Linked DNA regions of Homo sapiens: region 1 is linked to region 2. The links are contacts of gene promoters, found by promoter capture Hi-C in blood cells and fetal thymus (Javierre and others, 2016). All regions are on one chromosome and are shown on one strand. Each heading gives the region's core, a stretch centred on a gene start or on the middle of the fragment in contact. The rest is flanking DNA. Distances are from core to core; before and after follow the strand shown.

Evidence for each region. The method cuts DNA at HindIII sites, captures the fragments that hold promoters and counts their contacts. A CHiCAGO score of 5 or more calls a contact.
Region 1: a fragment that was not itself captured here is called in contact with the fragment with the promoter of GNB3 in region 2 in 13 of 17 cell types (non-activated CD4 T cells, activated CD4 T cells, total CD4 T cells and 10 more); the score reaches 13.1 in non-activated CD4 T cells.

Annotation. Positions count from the first base shown.
Region 1 is chr12:6,734,506-6,742,039 of GRCh38, forward strand. No RefSeq gene overlaps it. Among named protein-coding and RNA genes, the nearest start is that of COPS7A, 14 kb to the left of the region's middle. The HindIII fragment of the contact is 1,764 bases long and covers 5,034-6,797 here.
Region 2 is chr12:6,839,053-6,846,163 of GRCh38, forward strand. It overlaps GNB3 (G protein subunit beta 3), which reads left to right and starts at 1,873. Exons shown (of 10, transcript NM_002075.4): 1 at 1,873-1,981; 2 at 2,206-2,292; 3 at 2,534-2,572; 4 at 3,918-4,024; 5 at 4,122-4,185; 6 at 4,311-4,473; 7 at 4,580-4,646; 8 at 4,725-4,926; 9 at 6,534-6,750. The coding sequence starts at 2,236. It overlaps P3H3 (prolyl 3-hydroxylase 3), which reads left to right. Exons shown (of 15, transcript NM_014262.5): 14 at 1-88; 15 at 245-795. The coding sequence ends at 409. It also overlaps a transcript of CDCA3 not described here. The HindIII fragment of the contact is 12,557 bases long and covers 1-7,111 here.

The DNA of each region.
Region 1 (7,534 bases), core at 4,666-7,165, 100 kb before region 2:
AACATATAAATATGATCTGTTTCTGTGGGTAAGGAATCGGCACGGCTGAGCTTAGTTTTCTGCTTAGGTTTCTCACAAGACTGGAGTCAAGGTGTTAGCTAGGGCCATAGTCCTCTCAGGGTTCAACTGGGGAGGATTTGCTTCCCAGCTCGCTCGGTGGTTGTCAGCAGGATTCACTACTTCACAGATGGTTGGACCGGGGACCTCGTTTCCTGATTGACTGTTGGCCAGAGGCCACCGAGGTAGCCTTCTCCATCACAGCAAGAGCCAGAAAGACAACACCAGCAAGATGAAGTCACAGTCTTTTGTTACTTAATCATGGAAGTGACATTACCTCACTTTTACCAGTTACCAGGTCCAGTCTATACTCAAGGGGTGAAGGTTACACAGGGTGTGGCTGTCAGCAAGCAGGAATCATTGGAAACCATGTTAGAAGCTGCCTATCACAGGCAGTTTTTCTGGGCCACCAGCATCAAAATCATCAGGGGAGCTTCTGAAAATGTGCATTCCTGGACCCCACTTCCACCCTTTTCTATTGAATTAGAACCTCCGGGGTGTGAACTGGAAATGTGCCCTCATCACCCTCATTGACTCAGCTCTGCAAGGGCTCTGAAAAGGCTACTGCAGGGCCTTGGAAGACATGTAAGGGGGCCCAAGGTCACCGTCTGAGAGAGAAGGGAAAAGTGAAACTTTTGAGTACAGGGCAAGAGAGCAAGAGAAACTTGTCCTTTGAGGTTCTTAAGTACATGGTTATATATTACAAGTGTGATAAGTACTTTAAGAAGTATTGGGTGACACGAAAGCATTTAACTGGGATCTACATCTTGCTTGGGGTCAGAAAAGCCTCCAAGGACATGACCTTTAAACTGAAACTAGAAGCCCAAGTAGGAATTAGCCTGATGAAAGAGAGGGCGAGCATCTTGGATGGGAAGAATAGTGGGATAAAGGCCTGCAGGCAGAAAGGCTTCATTCTGTGACCCGCTGCCTGTCCCTCAATAGGAAATGCATAATTTGGGGAATGGGGCAAGATAGACAATCCTATACTTACTGTTCATTTATCAGTCAATTGGCAAATACATCTTGTTTTTTGTTTTATTTTGCTTTTGAGACCATGTCTTGCTCTGTCACCCAGGCTGGAGTACAGTGGCACGATCATATGGGAATGGAGAGGGAAGCCCCAGGGGCCCAAAAAATGTCAGAGAGACACGGGAGGAAAATCAAGAGAACAATCCCGTAAAAGTTTATGAACTCCTGGGCTAAGCTCTGAGCTGTGCAAGCGTAGATCTGTCCCTGAACAGCCTACCTAAGGCTTTGTGAACTGAATTACAGAATGGATCACTGTCCAGGTCTGACTGGCCACTGGGTGGCACCCGAGCCGGCCTGATCCAAATAGCACTGCAAACACTTTTAAAATAAAACCGACATTGAAACCACAGTGCCAAAAAGGCAGGTCAAAACTTGCTGCCTGAACCTGATTACCTGCTAAAACAAATTACCATTCAACATGTTCAACATGCTCCTTAAGATTTTAACAAGACCCAGAGCCTCAAACCATAATATTCAAAATATCCAGAGTATGATTTAAGGTGACTCAGCATACAAATAACTCTCCAGGGAAAAGACAGCCAACCCCAAGGAGGCAGAAGTGTTGGAATTTAAAGCAAATGCTGCAAGCAGTCTAACCATGCAGGAAGAAGAAAGGGAGAATGCTTTTGAAACAAATGTAAAGAAAGTCTTAGCAAAGAAATGGAAGATATAAAGAACCAAACAGAAAATAGCAATAACTAGGCCGGATGTGGTGGCTCACGCCTGTAATTCCAGCACTTTGGGAAGCTGAGCTGGACCATTCACCTGAGGTCAGGAGTTCGAGACTAGCCTGGCCAACATGGTGAAACCCCACCTTTACTAAAAATACAAAAATTAGCCAGGCGTGGTGGCAGGCACCTGTAATCTCAGCTACTTGGGAGGCTGAGGCAGGAGAATCGCTTCAACCTGGGAGGTGGAGGTTACAGTGAGCTGAGATTGTGCCATTGCACTCCCCCAGCCTGGGTGACAACAGCGAGACTCTGTCTCAAAAACAAAAACAAAAACAAAAACTTCCCAAACCTGGCAAAAGACAAAGACAGATTCAAAAAGTTTGGTGGATAGCAAACAAGATATACTCAAATCCATGTCCATAGCCAGCGTGGTGGCACATGCCTGTAGTCCGAGCTACTTGGAAGACTGAGGCAGGAGAATCACTTGAACCTGGGAGGTGGAAGTTGCAGTGAACCGAGATCAAGCCAACTGCACTCCAGCCTGAGTGATAGAGCTAGACTCTGTCTCAAAAAAAAAAAAAAAAATCCATATCTGGACACATCAGAATAAAATTGCCGAAGGTTAAAGACAAAGAAAAAAGTCCCACAAGCATTCAGAAAAACAGTGCTTTTCACACAGGATAAAAATGACTCAAATGACTGCACATTTTTCGTCAGAAACTATGAAAGTCAGGTGGAACTAGAATGATACTTTTAAGGGGCTTAAGGGAATTAACTCAAAATCCTATATCCAGTGAAAATATTGCTCAGGAATGAATGTGAAATAAAGATATTCTCAGGTGAAGGAAAATAAGAATTTGTCACCGGAAAACCCGCTGTAAAATCCTAAAGGAAGTTCTTTAGGCAGAAGAGAAATGACACCAAAGGAAACACGGAACATTAAGGATGAAGAGCAGCAGCAATGGTAAATATAATAGATTATTTTTCTCCTCTTAAGTTCTTTAAAATGTTTATGACAGCTGAAAGAAAATCATAAATTTGATGTTTGTCTCAAGAGGGAATTCTCTAAATATAATTTTAAAACAATTATAAATTCACCTAGAGCCATGCACCGCGGCTCACGCCTGTAATCCCAGCACTTTGGGAGGCTAAGGCGGGCGGAACACTTGAGGTCAGGAGTTGGAGACCAGCCTGGCCAACATGGTGAAACCCTGTCTCTACTAAAAACACAAAAATTAGCCGGGCGTGGTGGTGCATGCCTGTAATCCCAGCTACTTGGGAGGCTGAGGCAGGAGAACTGTTTGAACCTGGAGGTAGAGGTTGCAGTGAGCTGAGATCGCGCCATTGCACTCCAGCCTGGGCAAGAAGAGTGAAACTCCGTCTCAAGAAATAAATAAATTCACCTAGAAGGCTAGGTGTGGTGACTCACACCTATAATCTCAGCACTTTGGGAGGCTGAGATGGGCAGATCTCTTCAGCCTAGGAGTTCTAGACTAGCCTAGGCAACATGGTGAAACTTCGCCGCTATAAAAAATACAAAAAAAATTAGTGGGGCATGGTGGCCTGTGCCTGTAGTCCCAGCTACTTGGGAGGCTAAGGCAGGAGAATTGCTTGAGCCTGGGAGGTAGAGGTTGCAGTGAGCCAAGATTGTGCCATTGCATTCTAGTCTGGGCAACAGGAGTGAAACCCTGTCTCAAAAATTAAAAATCAATAGATAAATTCACCTAGAACTAAGCATTTTTAGCGTTTAGTATGTGGAGTTTCAGTATTTGTAGTATGTGGTGTTTGTCATTTATAGTAACACATATGAGAACTACGAGATGAGACAGTAAAGGGAGCTATGTTGTGGTAAAATTTCTACATTTAACTTGAAGTGGTAGAAAAAAACTCTGATTGTGAAAAGTATGTATTTTGTAATCCCCATAGTAAGGGTTAGTAAACCATATTCCACAGGCCAAATCCAGCCCACTGCCTGTTTTTGTAAATACAGTTTTGTTGGACTGTAGTTACACCTCATTCATTGCATATCATGTATGGTTGCTTTTGCACTACAGCATCAGATTTGGGTGTTGCAACACACATTGTATGGCTGACAAAGCTCATCATATTTATTGTATCTGGCCCTTTACAGAAAAAGTTTGCCGGCCCAGTGTAGTGACTCTTGCCTATAATCCCAGCACTTTGGGAGGCCGAGGCGGGTGGATCACGAGGTCAGGAGTTCAAGAACAGATTGGCCAAAATGGTGAAAGTCCGCCTCCACCAAAACTACAAAAATTAGCCAGGCGAGGTGGCAGGCGCCTGTAATCCCAGCTTTTCAGGAGGCCAAGGCAGGAGAATTGCCTGAACCCAGGTGGCAGAGGTTGCAGTGAGGCGAGATGTCACCAATGCCTGTCCTAGAGCGACCACTAAAGAAAAGAAAGCCAGGCGCGGTGGCTCATGCCTGTAATCCAAACACTTTGGGAAGCCAAGGTGGGCAGATCACGAGGTCAAGAGATCGAGATCATCCTGGCCAACAGGGTGAAACCCTGTCTCTACTAAAAATACAAAAATTAGGCCTGGCGCGGTGGCTCACGGCTGTAATCCCAGCACTTTGGGAGGCGGAGGCGGGCAGATCACGAGGTCAGGAGATCGAGACCATCCTGGCTAACACGGTGAAACCCCGTCTCTACTAAAAATACAAAAAAAAAAAAAAAAAAAAAAATTAGCCGGGCGTGGTGGCGGGCGCCTGTAGTCCCAGCTACTTGGGAGGCTGAGGCAGGAGAATGGCGTGAACGCGGCAGGCGGAGCTTGCAGTGAGCCAAGATCGCGCCACTGCACTCCAGCCTGGGCGACAGGAGCGAGACTCTGTCTCAAAAAAAAAAAAAAAAAAAAAATTCGCTGGGCATGGTGGTGGGCGCCTGTAGTCCCAGCTAATCGGCAGGCTGAGGCAGGAGAATCACTTGAGCCCGGGAGGCGGAGGTTGCAGTGAGCCTAAGTTTGCAGAGAGCCGAGATCGCGCCTCTGCACTCCAGCCTGGGCGACAGAGCAAGACTCCGTTTCAAAAACAAAAAACAAAACAAAAAGCCGGGCGCGGTGGTTCAAGCCTGTAATCCCAGCACTTTGGGAGGTCGAGGCGGGCGGATCACGAGGTCAGGAGATCAAGACCATCCTGGCTAACACGGTGAAAACGCGTCTCTACTAAAAATACAAAAAAATAGCCGGGCGTGGTGGCGGGCTCCTGTAGTTCCAGCTACTCGGGAGGCTGAGGCAGGAGAATGGCGTGAACTCAGGAGGCGAAGCTTCCAGAGAGCCGAGATCACACCACTGCACTCCAGCCTGGGCGACAGAGCGAGACTCCGACTCAAAAAATGAAGAAAAAGAAAAGAAAATGATACAGAGATTTACTGGGTGAAAAAAATCTGTACATAAATTAAAATGGAATACTAAATAACATTCAAGTAAACCAATACAAGGCTGGAAAATGGAGACAGAGAAATTACAAACAGAACAAACAAAATAAATAATAAATAATAGAAATATTGCCGGGCGCGGTGGCTCACACCTGTAATCTCAGCACTTTGGGAAGCCGAGGCAGGTGGATCACGAGATCGAGACCGTCCTGGCTAACATGGTGAAACCCCATCTCTACTAAAAATACAAAAAAATTAGCCGGGCGTGGTGGCGGGCACCTGTAGTCCCAGTCACTTGGGAGGCTGAGGCAGGAGAATGGCATGAACCCGGGAGGCGGAGCTTGCAGTGGGCCGAGACCGTGCCACTGCACTGAAGCCTGGGCAACAGAGTGAGACTCTGTCTCAAAAAAAAAAAAAGAAAGAAAGAAACAAAGAAAAAAAAAGAGATAAATGCAAACATACTAATTATATTAATTTTTTATTTTTATTTATTTATTTTTTTGAGATGGAGTCTCACTCTTGTCGCCCAGGCTGGAGCGCAGTGGCGCGATCTCAGCTTGCTACAACCTCTGCCTCCCAGGTTCAAGCTATTCTCCTGCCTCAGCCTCCCGAGTAGCTGGGATTACAGGCATATGCACCAAGCCCAGCTGATTTTTGTATTTTTAGTAGAGACAGGGTTTCACCATGTTGGCCAGGACAGTCTCGAACTCCTGACCTCAGGCAATCCTCCCGCCTTGGCCTCCCAAAGTGCTGGGATTACAGGTGTGAGTCACCACACCTGGGCAATTATATTAAATTTAAATGGCCTAACTACAATTAAAAGACGGATAGGCTGGTGGTATACATCTGTAGTTCCAGCTACTTGGGAGGCTGAGTTGGGAGGATTGCTTGAGCCTGAGAAGTTAAGGCTGCAGTGAGCTGTAACTGTGCCACTGCACTGCAGCCTGGGTAACAGAGTGAGACCCTGTCTCAAAAAAAAAAAAAAAAGAAAAAAAAAAAAGACTCACTTCTTAACTCCAGCACTTTGGGAGGCTGAGGCGTGAGGATCACTTGAGCCCATGATTTTGACACTAGCCTGTGCAACACAGTGAATAGAGACCCCATCTCTATTTTAAAAAAATATCAAAATAATTTTTTTCTTTTTTTTGAGACAGAGTCTCACTCTGTTGCCAGGCTGGAGTGCAGTAGTGCGATCTCGGCTCACTGCAACCTCCGCCTCCCCGGTTCGCGCCATTCTCCTGCCTCAGCCTCCCGAGTAGCTGGGACTACAGGCGCCCATCACCACGCCTTCCTAATTTTTTTTGTATTTTTAGTGGAGATGGGGTTTCACTGTGTTAACCAGGATGGTCTCGATCTCCTGACCTCGTGATCTGCCTACCCCGGCCTCACAAAATGCTGGGATTACAGGCGTAACCACCGCGCCCGGCCAAAATAATTTTTTTAAAAGACCCAGAAATACAGTGTCTTAAAAAAGAAAACAAATACTTTTAAGTATGACATAGGTCGGTTAAAAGTAAAAAGATGGAGAAACACGTACCATGAACACTAACCAAAAGAAAGTTGAAAATGGCTGTAGTAACAGTTAACTAAACTTCAGAGCAAAGAAAATTACCAGAGATAAAGAGGGACATTGGCTGGGCTTGGTGGCTTAAGCTTGTAATCCCAGCACTTTAGGAGGCCGAGGTGGGCAGATCACGAAGTCAGGAGTTCCAGACCAGCCTGGCCAACATGGTGTAACCCCCATCAATACTAAAAATACAAAAAAATTAGCCAGGCGTGTAATCCCAGCTACTTAGAAGGCTGAGGCAGGAGGATCACTTGAACCTGGGAGGCAGAGGTTGCAGTGAGCCGAGATCATGCCACTGCACTCCAGCCTGGGTGACAGAGCGAGACTCTGTCTCAAAAAAAACAAAACAAAACAAAAAAGACATTACATAATAAGATATTTGGTTTTCCAAGTAGATACAATAATTCTAAATGTCTATGCATTTAACTAAAGCGCTTTAAAATGCACAAAGCAGGCCGGCCACTGTGGCTCACGCCTGTAATCCCAGCACTTTGGGAGGCCCAGGTGGGCAGATCACTTGAAGTCAGGAGTTTGAGACCAGCCTGGCCAACATGGTGAAACCCCATCTCTACCGAAAATATAAAAAATTAGCCAGGCGTGGTGGCATGCGACTGTAATTGCAGTTACTCAGGAGGCTGAGGCAGGAGAATTACTTGAACCTGGGAGGTGGTCTAGCAGTAGCGAAAAGTGTCAAGGAACAACACCCGCTACTTAGCAGACCGGGAAAGTGAGTCTCCTTTTCCCCGGGGGAGTTTAGAGAAGACTCTGCTCCTCCACCTCTTGTGGAGGGCCTGACATTAGTCAGGCTGGCCCGCGGTTAT
Region 2 (7,111 bases), core at 623-3,122:
GAATCCCCATGGGGTGTGGGCCGTGACTCGGGGACGGCGCTGTGCCCTGGCACTGTGGCACACGTGGGCACCTGAGCACAGGGAGCAGGTAAGGAGCGGGGTAGGAAGGGATGTGGTTCTCCTGGTGCGTGAAGGGTGGGCAAGGAGCCCCCGAGAAGGCTCACAGTCGGTGAGGGTCAGGGGCTGAGCTGACCCAGGGAAGGTGGGTGCAGGGAATGGGCCACACTCTCCTCCCCAACCCCAGGAGTGGATAGAAGCCAAAGAACTGCTGCAGGAGTCACAGGAGGAGGAGGAAGAGGAAGAGGAAGAAATGCCCAGCAAAGACCCTTCCCCAGAGCCCCCTAGCCGCAGGCACCAGAGGGTCCAAGACAAGACTGGAAGGGCACCTCGGGTTCGGGAGGAGCTGTGAGTGGCTGAGCCAGCTCCTTGAGGATGTGGCCACTTGACTTGTGGAAGGCCATCTTGATGCCAGGACACACAGGAAGCCCCTGTGTGACATCAGGAGCAGAACAGCAAGCTCTCTGTCCCTGCACCCCCACCATCTTGGGGACCTACAAGGGCCTGGACTCAGAGGACAGTGCACAGGCTAGCCTGGAGCTCACCAGGCCTGGGGAGCTGGGACGGGGCCCCGCTGCCGGACCTGCAGCCCTGGACAGATGGGGAACACTGTGCCTCCCTGAACAGAAATGGCAGGGGAGGAGGCTGATGCTTTAAATGAAGAGGATGGTGGGGTTGGGAGGTATAACCCTGCTCCTCTCTCCCAGTCTGTGCAATAAAGGTCGTGAAGATCTCTCAGCCAGGGGCCAGTCAAGTGTATCACAGATTCTGTGATGGCTGGAGGTGGGGGTGGCTCTGGCTGGCCTGGGAGGAGACAGGTGTCTTTGGGCCTCCCAGAGGCGGGGCGCCTGGAGCCTGTGATTTGTCAGGGAAATCTCAGCCACCTGCTCCCCTCATGCAAATGACCCAAGCCCCTGGCAGCTGCTCCTTAGGCCTCCAAGTGTAAGCCCTGTCTTCCCTCTCTGAGCTTTGCTGAGACTTAGGGCCGCCTGCTTTCTCTCTGACCCCTGCTTTCACAGCCTCGAGAGGGCAAGGAGGGGGCCAGACCCCAGCCTGGGAGCAGCGTGCGGGCCTTCCCTCCACTTGAAATCCGTTGCCCGCCCACAATAGGGGCAGACCTGTCCATCCTTCTCTGTGGGTCCCCTGTACCTTTCTCCCCCAACAGGATCAGACCCAGAGGCAGCTGGTTGGGGTTTGTCGAGAAGAAGGATTATCCAGATCAGTCCTTTCTAATCTCAGCTCCTGCCTGTACCCTCCCATACTCACCAAACCCTCTTCCCCACCACCCTGAGCTGAGGAGCACAGTTTGAGGTACTGACAATGGGGCCATCTATCACCCTTATATCCCACCTCCTGGCCTGGTTGCTAAGTGGCCCTGACTGCCAAGATCATCACCATGGATGGGGGCCGGGACCAGGGGGGCCACTGGAGCTGTAGTTGTCTGCTCCTTTGCACCCCTCCCAAACCCCAACCCTTAATCCTCACAGCTTTGCTCTAATCCTGTGGGGCCTGATGCTCTTATCTCTGCCTGCAGAGACTGACCAGGGAAGCACCCCTTCACCCCCTCCTCTCTCAGGGCTTGTGGTGGGGGCTGCCCCTCTCTATGGCCCCACACTCCTGCCCCCAACCCTCCTCCCGGCTGGGCCCAAGTCTCTCTGGAATCCGTACACCTCCCTCCCTCCCCCCACCCCTTCCCCCCACCCCTGCCAGCTGATTTCATTTGCCTGACGTTGTGGTTGGCTCTACCCTTCCCTGTCAGGCCCCCCCAACCCCCCGCCGGTCGGGGCCAGGCCAGGCCAGGCCAGCTCCTCTGGCAGCAGAGCCTGGGCAGGTGACGGGCGGGCGCGGGCGTCGCAGCTGAGGGAGTAAGGAGGCTCCCAGGAACCGGAGCTGGAAACCCGGCCGAGGTCCAGCCAGAGCCCAAGTAAGAGGGAGCTGGCCTGGGCTCTGCTCTCCTGGGCTGGGGCGCAGGCAGGGCTCAGGCAGGCTGGGGCTGGACGCAAAGGACCTCAAACTTGGAGGGCCTAGCTGGGGAGAGGGTGCAGCCACCCAGTCGTTTCCCTGTGTCTTGGAGTCTGGTGTGGGCACGAAGGGCAGAAGCACAGCCTGGTGGGGGGTTCCTCAACACCGACCCCATGTTCCTGGCAGGAGCCAGAGTGACCCCTCGACCTGTCAGCCATGGGGGAGATGGAGCAACTGCGTCAGGAAGCGGAGCAGCTCAAGAAGCAGATTGCAGTAACTCCAGAGCCCTACCCCTGGGGCCCCAGAAAACAGCTGGGGACATGAGGAGCGTGGCCCAGGGGGAGGGGGCTGGGTTTGCTCTTGAGTGACTAGAAGTGACCAGGGACTTTCTAAACTTGGTTCGCATATTTGAGACCCCCAAGCCCCAGAGCCCCAAGACCAACCTGCCCTGAAGGCCCATGCACCTGCCACCCCCACCTCGCCCTTGCTCCCCTGATGTCTGCTTTCCCTGCAGGATGCCAGGAAAGCCTGTGCTGACGTTACTCTGGCAGAGGTAAGACCCCCTGTCCCCCGGAAGGCAGGGCATGGGGGGAGGGGAAGGGAGCTCCCCGACCCGCAATAGCGCGTTGCTCCGAGCATTAGTACAGCACGTCCTTGGAGTGAGGAAACCCATTAATTAATTCATTCGACCAACATTTTAGCGGGACCTGCTCTGAGCCAGGCACCATATTGGATGCGAAAGATGCGGACACGGTTCCTATTCTCATCCGTAGAACAAGAGTGACCACAGCCCCCTCCCAGGGCCTTGAAGATGAAGAAGCGATAGTACTTTGTAAATTATAAAGCCCTTGTAGACTCTAGCTGCTAGTTTTCTATGCTGTATTTTGTCAATTCTAAGATGCACATTTCTTCACATTTTGACATCTCTGAAATCAAGGTGCATTCAGCAATGGATCATTGTTTCAATTAGAATTGACAGCATCTTTTCTTTCTTAGTGATGCATCTTAGATTGGATTAAATATGTTAATAGTGAACACTTTTTATGAGCCAGATACTGGGCTAAGCTGCATAAATACCTGATTTCATTGAATTTTCATGATATCTCTGTAAGGTAGGTGCTATGATAAGCCTCATTTTACACCTTGAGTAAACAGACTCAGGGAGGTGAAGCAACTTGCCCAAGATAACAAAGCAGGCCGGGCGCAGTGGTTCACGCCTGTAATCCCAGCCCTTTGGGAGACTGACGTGAAAGGATCACTTGAGCTCAGGAGTTTGAGACCAGCCTGGGCAACATAGTGAGATCTCTTCTTAATATAAAAAAAATTGCTTTTAACTTTTTAAAAAAAGATAGCAATGCAAGTGATGGCAAATCAAGTCTGTTCACTCTGGACCCCCAGCCTAAGTCTAAAATGTGGTTAGAGCTCAAGGGGCATAGTACCACAGATTTCAGGAGGTACAGTTCAGGGTCATGGTGATGCCCCAGGCACCCAGTTAAAAAGCTAGCCGTGCTGCAGCGGTGGGTGCAAGCAGGCTCCTCTCGGCTTGGGAGAGCCAGCTCTGTGCATCTCTTCCCAAATCTGTTTCCAATGACCTCACATTGGCAGCTGGAAACTGGTCAAAGTGCAAGTATTCGTATCGTGGAAATCACCTTCCCACCTTCCTCACCAACACTGGAGAGGTGCTTGTTAAACACTTACAAGCAACACACCTCTGGCCATGCATGCATCTCTTTCCCACATCAGTCTAAGACACTCCAGGGCAGAGACTTATTTCTCTAAGGCTGGGGGCCTGACCTAGAGCCTGGCACAGAGCGGGAACTTGTATAGATCAGTGGCAGTGACAGACATCTGGGCACGTAACCTGCTCACCCTGATATTCAGTGCCCCTCTCTCTGCAGCTGGTGTCTGGCCTAGAGGTGGTGGGACGAGTCCAGATGCGGACGCGGCGGACGTTAAGGGGACACCTGGCCAAGATTTACGCCATGCACTGGGCCACTGATTCTAAGTGAGGCTTGGGGGGGAACCGAGAATGGGAGGGTGAGAGCGGGAGTGAGGAAGGCGGGAAGGGGAGGCTTGCATGATATGGGATGCCCTCTCCCCAGGCTGCTGGTAAGTGCCTCGCAAGATGGGAAGCTGATCGTGTGGGACAGCTACACCACCAACAAGGTACCAGCCCTGCCTCCCTGAGCCTCCACCACTGCATCCTTCCTAAGGGCGCCATGCCTACCCTCCTGTGCCCAGCTGGGAGCTTGGCTCCGGTCCCATCTCTGCTCAAACCACCCTCCCTGCAGGTGCACGCCATCCCACTGCGCTCCTCCTGGGTCATGACCTGTGCCTATGCCCCATCAGGGAACTTTGTGGCATGTGGGGGGCTGGACAACATGTGTTCCATCTACAACCTCAAATCCCGTGAGGGCAATGTCAAGGTCAGCCGGGAGCTTTCTGCTCACACAGGTGAGGGAGAGACCCTCTCCTCCCCTCCTGAGGGGTTCAGGGAACCCTGGGCTTCCAGTGGGCTGTGGCTCTGCAGCCAGGGCACTGTCCTTCTAACCGCCTCCAGGTTATCTCTCCTGCTGCCGCTTCCTGGATGACAACAATATTGTGACCAGCTCGGGGGACACCACGTGGTGAGGCTGAACATTGCTGGTGCTGGGGCTTGGGAGTGGGCCCGGCCTTTCTCTAACAGTCTCCCTCCATTTTGGCAGTGCCTTGTGGGACATTGAGACTGGGCAGCAGAAGACTGTATTTGTGGGACACACGGGTGACTGCATGAGCCTGGCTGTGTCTCCTGACTTCAATCTCTTCATTTCGGGGGCCTGTGATGCCAGTGCCAAGCTCTGGGATGTGCGAGAGGGGACCTGCCGTCAGACTTTCACTGGCCACGAGTCGGACATCAACGCCATCTGTGTGAGTGCACCCCCCACCCCAGCTTCACTCCAACTCCTTCCCCGACACTCCCCACAACACATACAATACACATCCTCTGCCCCTCCCATAGCTTCCCTAGCCCTTTCTTACTGTATTTTTTTTTTTTTTTTTTTTTTTTTTGAGACAGAGTCTCACTTTGTCGCCCAGGCTGGAGTGCAGTGGTGCAATCTTGGCTCACTGCAACCTCTGCCTCCTGGGTTGGAGCAATTCTCCTGCTTCAGCCTCCTGAGTAGCTGGGATTACAGGTGTGCGCCACCATGCCCGGCTAATTTTTGTATTTTTAGTAGAGATGGGGTTTTGCCATGTTGGCCAGGCTGGTCTTGAACTCTTGACCTGAGGTGATCCTCCCACCTCAGCTTCCCAGAGTGCAGTGCTGGGATTACAGATGTGAGCCACTGTGCCCAGTCTTCCCTAGCCCTTTCTTTCTTTCCTTTTTTTGGAGACAGAGTCTCACACTGTTGCCCAGTCTGGATGCAGTGGTGCTATCATAGCTCACCGCAGTCTCAACCTCCAGGGTTCAACCAATCCTCCCACCACAGCCTCCTGAGTAGCTGGGACTACAGATGCGTGTGACCACGCTTGGCTAATGTTTTGATTTTTGTGTAGAGATGGGTTCCCACTATGTTGCCCAGGCTGAGCTGGAACTTCTGAGCTCAAGCGATCCTCCTGCCTCAGTCTCCCAAAATATTGGGATTACAGGCATGAGCCACCACGCCTAGCCCATTTTATCACGTTTGCTTTATCATTTTTTCTCTGTAGAGAAATAGCCATAGATACACACACACATACACACTTAGATGTAGATATACATTTTCTTTCTGTGTCTTTTGAAAGTAGGTTGCAGACATCATGTTTCTTTACCCCTTAAGTACTTCCCGAAACAAAGCCCTTCTGTAGCATAATCACTGTATGATTCTTAAGATCAGGAAACTCAACATTGACACAATACTACAGTCTACAGTCTATATTCAAATTTCACCAATAGCCTCAAAAATGTCCATAATAGCTCATGTTTTTTTCTGTCCAGGATCCAATCCAGAAACGTGCATTACCTTTCCTCGCCATATCTTTTTCGTCACCACCTTTAAACTGGAACTGTTTTCCCACCTTTGTCTTTTATGTCATTGACGTTTTTGAAGAGTACAAACCAGTTTTCTGTAGACTCTCCCTCCGTTTGAGCTTATCTGACATTTGCTCGCCGTGAGATCCAGGCCTTGCATTTGTACTGGACCCTGTTCTTACACACCCTGATCCAGCCCACTTGTGTAGTCTGGGAGTCTGGGACAACCTCCGTCCGCCCTTCTAGCCGGGTCACTGCAGGCAAGCCTTGGTGCTCTTGCCTGCGACGTGGAAATGATGCCTGCCTGCAGCGCTGTATAGTGCAGAGCGGGCGAGGGGCATAGGGAAGTCACTGGCACGTGGTATGTGTTGGCAGGGCTGCTTCTCACCCCAAACCAAGGGAGGGACAGGCAGGGAGGCTGAGAGCAGCGGCTTGCCCTGGAGCTGTCAGGTGGGAGGCAGAGGGCGGGAGAGGCTGTGGGCTGCCCAGGTCTGATCCCTGACCCACTTGCCACCCGTGCCCTCAGTTCTTCCCCAATGGAGAGGCCATCTGCACGGGCTCGGATGACGCTTCCTGCCGCTTGTTTGACCTGCGGGCAGACCAGGAGCTGATCTGCTTCTCCCACGAGAGCATCATCTGCGGCATCACGTCCGTGGCCTTCTCCCTCAGTGGCCGCCTACTATTCGCTGGCTACGACGACTTCAACTGCAATGTCTGGGACTCCATGAAGTCTGAGCGTGTGGGTAAGGGCCAGCCCTGGCTGCTGCTTCCTCAGCTGGAAGGACCCTCCCCAGCCCTCCCTCCCCATTCTGTACCCCCCATCAGCTCCCATTTCGGACTCTCTTACTGCTGTCCCTTGTCACTGGGTGACTCCACCCCTGGAATCCAGTACCCCTTGGTTCCCAACTAGGACTGTTTTCCCTCAGTGTTGCTCTAAGCAGCCTCTCTCCACTGCCCAATGCCATGACTGCTCCCTGCCCTAGGAGATCTGTGGACCATGACTGTCCAGTCAGTTCTGGGTTCCTGGCATTTCAGGGGCACCCACTGAGAGGCAAGACAGCCTCAGGGAAACATGGAATCAAGGCAGAATCAAGGAGATCTGGA